Regions from separate parts of the Homo sapiens genome. Here all the other regions are linked to region 3. The links are contacts of gene promoters, found by promoter capture Hi-C in blood cells and fetal thymus (Javierre and others, 2016). All regions are on one chromosome and are shown on one strand. Each heading gives the region's core, a stretch centred on a gene start or on the middle of the fragment in contact. The rest is flanking DNA. Distances are from core to core; before and after follow the strand shown.

Evidence for each region. The method cuts DNA at HindIII sites, captures the fragments that hold promoters and counts their contacts. A CHiCAGO score of 5 or more calls a contact.
Region 1: a contact is called between a fragment that was not itself captured here and the fragment with the promoter of TNFSF18 in region 3, in 4 of 17 cell types (naive B cells, activated CD4 T cells, monocytes and 1 more). The highest score is 6.5, in naive B cells.
Region 2: a fragment that was not itself captured here is called in contact with the fragment with the promoter of TNFSF18 in region 3 in 4 of 17 cell types (M1 macrophages, M0 macrophages, M2 macrophages and 1 more); the score reaches 9.6 in M1 macrophages.

The regions. Positions count from the first base shown.
Region 1 is chr1:172,789,001-172,791,700 of GRCh38, reverse strand. No RefSeq gene overlaps it. Among named protein-coding and RNA genes, the nearest start is that of FASLG, 130 kb to the right of the region's middle. The HindIII fragment of the contact is 482 bases long and covers 1,102-1,583 here.
Region 2 is chr1:172,764,807-172,767,506 of GRCh38, reverse strand. No RefSeq gene overlaps it. Among named protein-coding and RNA genes, the nearest start is that of FASLG, 110 kb to the right of the region's middle. The HindIII fragment of the contact is 856 bases long and covers 854-1,709 here.
Region 3 is chr1:173,049,634-173,052,333 of GRCh38, reverse strand. TNFSF18 (TNF superfamily member 18) reads left to right here and starts at 1,393. Exons shown (of 3, transcript NM_005092.4): 1 at 1,393-1,593. The coding sequence starts at 1,438. The HindIII fragment of the contact is 4,458 bases long and covers 1-2,700 here.

The sequences.
Region 1 (2,700 bases), core at 93-2,592, 260 kb after region 3:
CACACATAGTGTATAATTCCATTTATAGGAAATGTCCAGAATAGGCAAATCCATAGGGACAGAGAACAGATGTGTTATTTCCAGGGACTAGGGTCAGGGAGAATGGGGAGTGATTCCTAATGGATACAAGGTTTCCTTTCTGGGTGATGAAAGTGTTCTGGAATTAGAGAGTTGTGATGGTTGTACAACTCTGCAACTCTGTGAAAATACTAAAAACCACCAAATTGTACACCTTTAAAAGATAGATTTTTATGGTATATTAATATCTTACTAAATCTATTATTGAAAAACAAATTAGGAGAAGTATAATAGGCAAAAATGACCACACTTAACTGCCCCCCTACCAGTCCTTCTGTATTCTATGACCTTCCTCCTTTCCATCCTTCCACATTCAGGCTGAGCCTTCCTTCCACTCTCTCTCTTTTCTCCTCCATCTCACTTATTCAGATTCTCCTAGAAATATCAGCCTGGTTCACCCTGGGATTTTGAAGGCCCTCTGCTTTGCCTTCCTTGCTTTGCATATGAGTACTCTGAATCACAGAGAGGAGAGGTGACCCACCCAAGGCTTTGGAGTTAAGAAGTGATCAAGCCAGGGGATCTGCAATGAGAAGTGTTCTCTCTCTGGCCCCTCAGTGCTTCCTATCTACCTATGCAGAAAAATGGCTTGCTAAAGATCTAAGAAGCACCTGGATGGCCCTCCTTCCCTGAGAAGTTAACTTACTATGGGTTAACTTCTGGGCCTTCCAGCCTAGACTTTCTTCTTCCTGGGCTCTCTCTTCCTCTTTCCTCTGTCCTCTGCCTCCCATTACATTTTCATCTTCTCCCCAAACCTCTCTTCTACATCTCACCCTACCCACCTTTGAATCTAGCAGCTTTCCTCTGAACCTCCTTCCCTCCTCCATTTATCCCCACATTTCCTCCAGAAATCTCTGCTGATGCGTCCCCAGGCTCACTCTCCCAAATCTGACAGTAAAACAAGAATATATAGGCAGTTTGGGCCATGTGTTAGAATTATAGTTAATTGCCAAATTTCCTTGCAGCATATATAATGGATAAAAGTAGCAAGTAAGTCTTTAATATGCATTGTTAGCTTCTGAAGCTTCCTTATTCCTTGTACATATTTTATCTTCCTCCAAACACCCATGAGTATCATGAATAGCATCTAACAAACTTAGTTAAGCATAAGAAAGTAACTGACACATAGACCACGAAAGTGAAAAATTTACATCATTATACCACACATACACACACACAAACACACTCATACACTCACAGAGAGAGCAAGAGAGACTCGAATGCCTAGCATTACTGTAATTTTTGTCTCTGTGAGTGATCTTGCCTGCTACAGCTAAGAGAGTTTCCTAAAAACTGATTAAATTGATTGGGTTAGAATAGTTTTAACCCAATTTCTCTTTAATTCCTCTCAGAAGTGAGAGTGGGGCTCTCTCTGACCCCTCATATTTCCAGGTTCTAGGCTCCAGGGGCAGAGAGCTGCTAATAGCCAAGTAATAAACCCACATGCCTTAACTAGGCTCTGAGGTGGAAAAAACAGACAAGTTGGCTTCATACTAACAACAGAAGCTTTAGCTTGTCACCTTCTTCCATTGCCCCAGGGCTGACAGGAGGGCCAGTGTTATGAACATATAGCCTGTGCAGTCACAGAGGTCCACGTGCTTAGAACGAAACCATGCTTGGTTTAATGCTCTGCCATCTCTGTCTTGAAATTCTCAATTACTTTTTAAGTGGGTGCCCTGCACTTTCATTTTTCATTGAATCTCACAAATTATTTAGCCAGTCATAACCACAGTCACCTGTGAGAAGAGTGAGCATGTGCTAGGTCAGTATTTGGTCCTCTTCTCCCTCACCTCCTTGGTTTTGTAGCAGATTTCTCTGATCTTCTCCTGCTCCTGATGTGGGGGATAGAAAGGTAAAAGGTAAGGGAGAGTTGAGAAGAAAATATTTTCCCAAGTGCATAAATAATCAGTTGAGGGTCACCATTCTGTTCCCTAGGAAAGATGAGGGTTTTTTCAGCTTTTCTTTTTAATTAAGGAGGAAAGAGTCAACCATGTAAGATGAGACAATGAAGTGTGGTATGTGTATGTATGTGTGCATATATTAAAGAAGTTTCATTTTCTATGTGCCAGACACTGCATCAAGAATTTTGTGTATATAATCTAATTTATTCCTCAAGATCAACTATGAGGTAAATATTACTATTATTCCAACTTACACATGGAGAAAATGATTCTTGGAAAAATTAAATAGGCAAGGTGGCAGAGCAAGATGGCACAACACCAATTTAACAACTGTCTACACATTAAAAAAAGCATCTTCATAAGAACTAGAAATCAGGCGAGCATTCACAGTACTTGGTTTTAACTTCACATTGCTGAAGACGTAGGAAAAACAGTCTTGAATTGCGGACACTACCCCTTCCCCATTCCCCAGCAGCAATGGCAAAGTGCAGACAACATTTCTGTGCTCTGGGGAGAGGGAGATCACAGCAATTGTGAGGCATTGAACTCAGTGCTGCCCTATTATAACAGAAAACAAAACCAGACCAAACTCAGCTGATGCCTGCCCATGGGGGGAGCATTTAAACCAGCCCTGGAGCTCTTGAAAGGCAGTCTAGGCCACAAGGACTGCAATTCTTTGGCAAGTCCTAGTGCTGAACTGGTCCCAGAAACAATGGACTGGGGG
Region 2 (2,700 bases), core at 32-2,531, 280 kb after region 3:
GCTGTTTTCTGCTGCTAAATTTGAGGTAATTGGTACAGCATCAATAGAAAACTAATACAGCCCAAGAAAGTTATATCATGAGGCTAACGTAAGGAGCATCTGACTAAGAAAGGAGCAGAGAGTGGCTGAGTATCCCTTTTTCACAAGGTTATTTGAGGAGCACTAAGTTTGGGGTTATTTAACACTCTTGTCTTTCCATTAATATATTTGCCTATCTCCAGACTCCGTGCTAGGGAAGGATATATTTCCAAAGAATTTAAATTAAGCAAGGTCTCACCAGCAACCTAATCTGTACCTTTTAAAAATAATAGGATAAGCTGGGTGCAGTGGCTCATGCCTGTAATCCCAGAACTTTAGGGGGCTGAAGCAGGAGGATCACTTAAGCTCAGGAATTCAGCGCCAACCTGAGCAACATAGTAAGACCTCCTCTCTAGTAGAAATTTTAAAAATTAGCTAGGTGTGGTGGCACACACTTATGTCCTAGTTACTAGGGAGTCTGAGGCAGGAGCATTACTTGAGCCCAGGAGATTAGGGGTACAGTGAGCCATGATTGTGCTACTCCTCTCCAACCTGGGTGACACAGCAAGCCTGTCTCAAAAAACAAATAAATAAATAAATAATCAAATAAAAATAATTGGTGACTTTCAAGACATAAAGTAAGAAGAGTGTCCTTTGAGGGTTGTGATAGATGGCATTACTATTCTTCCAAATATTCCAGTTCCCCTTTCTGTGATGTCCTTCCCTGTAGGAGGATTATGTATTATCCTCCATGACATCAGCTTTAGCCATGTGATTTGCTTTGGTTCATTACATGCAAGCAGAAGTGATGTTTTTTCACTTACGAGCAGAAGCTTTAAAACACAGCATGTGATCACTAGGCTCTATTTCCCTCTCCCATGAGCCCAGCAACACCACAGTTAGAGGCCACGCCGTCATCCTGGGTCCCACAGTGAACAAGGCATGGACCAGAGCCTCAGTCGGTCAGTGATGGACATGTAACTTGAGCAGGAAATAAACCTGTATATCCCACTTGGATTTGGGGGTCATTAGTTACCACAGCATAACTTAGCCAAGCTGACTGATATAAGTCCTATAACTTGCCAACCTCTTTAATGACTGGGAGTCATTAAACAAGGCCCCCTAAAGCAAACTGTTTCAGTTCAAGTGGATATATGTAAAAGGCTCTTCTTGGTTATGCAGATAAGTTGAGTGACATTATCGAGGGAGGGCAAAATGCCTTGAGTAATACCTATATTGGTTAAAGAAGCATAGGCTCTGTCACAACAACGGGTAGATTCCCAAATCTCAGAAACTCACAAAATTAAAATTTCTCATGTAGACGAGCTCCAATGCAGGTTAATCACTCTTCTGATGGCTCCCCTCTAAGTAGTGATTTAAGGCTCATGCTGTTCCCAACTTGCAATGCAACCATTTTGGAATCCTTATTTCCAAACACATAGTTAAAGAGCTCATGGAAGATCTCACAGAAAAGTTTTTATAGCAAGGCCCAGGAAAGGTAAGGCCCATATTCTCTAGGCAGATTTCATCACAGATTCCACCTAGTTGAAAGGAGGACTGGAAAATGAAATCTTCCTATGTGACCAGGAAGAAAATAAAATGGTTCCATGAACAGTTACATTTTATCTGCTATAGTAAGGTAGTATTTTTACAGGAAAAAAGATATAAAACATGTTGAATTTTGAGAAGCTTTAAAAAGGCTGTGTTGCCACTTGGATGATAATGGTTAACAGGGAAGAACATTGAATATTGGCTCTTTGAGTAATAGTTATTGGAATCCAACCAGACCTCAGTATTGGTGAGCTTGTGCCTCTGGATGTGTCTGTGTATGTTAACCAAAAGTGCTTTCTGCTAAAGCCATATCCATACGGACTGAGTGTAGCCACTTCAGAAATGGAGGTGTCTGGACAACCCAGGGCCATGCTGCTTCAGTGGACAAGCAGCACTGGAGGGACATACCTGACTTGTCTTCAGCAGCAACCCCAAGTGGTGATGGGCAACATACTGTTCAAAGCCCAGTTCTCCCTATACCTAGCATTAGAAAAGGACTGATCTCTCTTTGGGTCAAATAAACCCTGGAAGGAATTCTTAGGGGAATTTAAGAGGGGGAGCTTCAAAAGCTTCTTTTCACTTACAAGAAGAAACTTTAAGAGACAGCATGTGATCACTAGGCCCTACTTCCTTCTCCCATGAGCCCAGCAGCATCCCGGTTAGAGGCCACACCAGCATCCTGGGTCCCACAATGAAGATGACATTGACCAGAGCCTCAACTGGTCAATGATGGACATGTAACTTGAGCAAGAAACAAACCTGTATATCCCACTTGGATTTGGGGGTCATTAGTTACCACAGCATTTTCAAAAGAAAATGTGTTGCAATTCAAGAAAATAATTTGTAAACTAAAAGATGTCTCATATTTGAATAACAAATTTTTTGAGCAATTCATTCTGGTTTACTAAAGAGAGATATAGTATAAAGATAATAGAGGAGTGGAATAAGAGCATCAAAATAAAAGAAATCTAAGGGAGAGAAGTAAGCAATTCATCTTGATTAATTTTATTTTATTTTTAATCAATAACCCCCAACATGGCAGCAATGCAAACCACATAGGCCAGCTGGTCAGAACAGTACCCACTGAGAGATGGACAGTTTTGTGGGAGGTGATTCCACTTTAGAAATTCA
Region 3 (2,700 bases), core at 144-2,643:
CACTCCATCATTAACCAGCCAGCAGTGATTTGAGACACTACTCACACCCTCTTGTCCTTAGTTTCCTTTTTTTGTAAAGGAGGATGTTAAATCTCTGGACTTTTTTCTAATTTATAAATCGTCAATTCTCTCTTAGATTAAAAAATAGGTTTTCCAAAATACTTTCATTGTACTTCCTTTTGTTTAAGTAAACTTTAGGTGAATTTTATCTTGTGGGAAAGATAAAGAATGTTCATTCTTTTCTAGGATTTAATAATTGAATTAAACTTCACTACATCGCTAAAGAGGGTAGAGAAGAGATAATCTAACATTTATGGAATGCATAAACTTTTCACCTTCATTTCATTCTCCACAAAAGCATTATAAAGTGAAAATTTTCTCCATTTTACAGTGAAGGAAACTGAAGCTCAGAGAACTCAAGTAACATGCCTAAGGCCACAGAGCAGGTAGGAACTGGGCAGTGCCAGCCTCTGCTCTTGAGGTCTGTCTGATTTAAAAGCCTGTGTGACTGAGGTCCATAGAACCAGGAGACTTCCTCAATTTTGTAGTAAACCCATATTTTTGGGCCCAGGAAGAAAACCCAAGGTTTTTTTTTTTTTTTTTTTGGAATAGAGTATAAGCTCTGGCTGAGGGCAGGATGCAGGAAAATATCCTTCTGTAAAATAACTTCTTATGCCAGAACTAGATTATCAGAGTTTAAAAATGATGAAATATAAAATTGAGCTTGTTGTATTTACAATTTTTTATTAAATTCTTGTAATACACTTGATATTTTCTAGAGACTCAGAATGAACGCATTCTATACACTAGAAATTGATGAAACATTTTTGTGAGTATAGATTTTATTTTTCCAGGTTTACTGAAGTATAATTGACAAATAAAAATTGTGGGTATTTAAGGTAAACAAGATGATGACTTGATTAAAACTCTATTTTTTCCAAACTAGAGATCCTAGCCTCTCCAACTTCCTAACACTCTGCCGCTCATGTACATGATATCTGGAGTATGGTAGGGGGATTAATCTCAAACTTTATTTTTTCTTATAAAAAGTGATTTTCTTATCTAGAAATAATCTGGAATACTTTCTTAGATGAGAGCACACCACTTTATTCTCCCAAGCCTCCTCTACACGTGCACTGTACTGCCGTTTGATTTAGGAAAGAAATTTTTTTCCCCTCTGAACTTCCCTTGTGCTTTTTTTTTTATGTTCTGAGTTTGTGTTGGCTTTCAGCCTTCCGTTCCTTTTGTTGTATTTGATCTGGTGCCAAATGAGAGTCAGCACTTAAGTTATAAGTATCATTTTCTAACACAGTGACAGAAGGAAAACTCCGCCTTCCACACCCACTACTAATTACCATATTGCTACAAAACATGACATTGCATCCTTCACCCATCACTTGTGAATTTTTGTTTTCCACAGCTCTCATTTCTCCAAAAATGTGTTTGAGCCACTTGGAAAATATGCCTTTAAGCCATTCAAGAACTCAAGGAGCTCAGAGATCATCCTGGAAGCTGTGGCTCTTTTGCTCAATAGTTATGTTGCTATTTCTTTGCTCCTTCAGTTGGCTAATCTTTATTTTTCTCCAATTAGAGGTAAGGAGGCAATTGTACCTAAGGTTACTATTTGCTATAATCCTCTATTTATTTGTTTTTCTAGTTGTTATCATTGTCACTCAGTATTGTTAGCAATAGTTGGAAGGAAGAGATGTGTATACATAATGTAAATACAATTCTAATATTGTCATGACATGGCGTTTGAAGTTTATCTAAAGGTTTTGAGATAAAAGGTATCAGAAAATGCTAAATGTTAGCTGCAGAACTCTGTTAGATAGAGAGAACTGGTTAAGCCAATTGACAGGGGCCTGTGGAGTATTTTTCCTTCCCTCTGCTATAGCTCTTGGTGGAATAAAAAAGGTAAAAATATGAATGAATATCAAGGAATGGGATGCAAGCTATAGTCTTATTTATGGAAAAGACTTAAAAAAATAGTGAAAGACAGGATTAAGTAAATGACAGGTGGTTTGTGTGTCTTTGAGGAGGGAAGTGGCCCTGAGCTAGGTGTAAGAAGATCTGGATTCTGGTTCTGGGTCTCCTAATAACCAGCTGTATAAATTTGATAAAGACATTTAATCTCTCTAGTTTGCAGCTTCTTTATCTAAAAAAACTGGTGGTAGGGGAATGGATTTATTATGATGTTTCTTCTAGCTATAAAATGTCATGATCAAGAATTTATTTAAGGGTAGTATGAAGAATAAATGCCTAAGTCACTCAAAAGCAGGGAACAATGACTTTAGATTGAGTTGATCAGGGAAGACTTCATGGAGGAATGAGAAAGCCCATATCTATTTGGGAAGCCCCTGATGCTTGTCAGGAATTTCCCATTGAGATGCAGGCCAAGCTGTGGGCCTAGAGAATGGGATGGTACACTGGGAATGGAGATTAGTTTTGTTCTTTACTAAAAAATCTTTCCTCACAGTTAACTACGTAGCACTGATCAAAAAGAAAATAAGAAATGCTTTATTTATTTCAGGATTTAGCCTATTTCTGGCTAAATTTGAAGACTCTAAGTTTTGGGGAGAATAAAGTGGCATATGTCCATCTGAGAAAGAGTTGAAATGTGACTGCAGAAACACTTTTCTTAAGGGAACTGACCAGCAAAGATTTCAAAGATATAGTTCTACCACTTAAGATAAGTAAAAG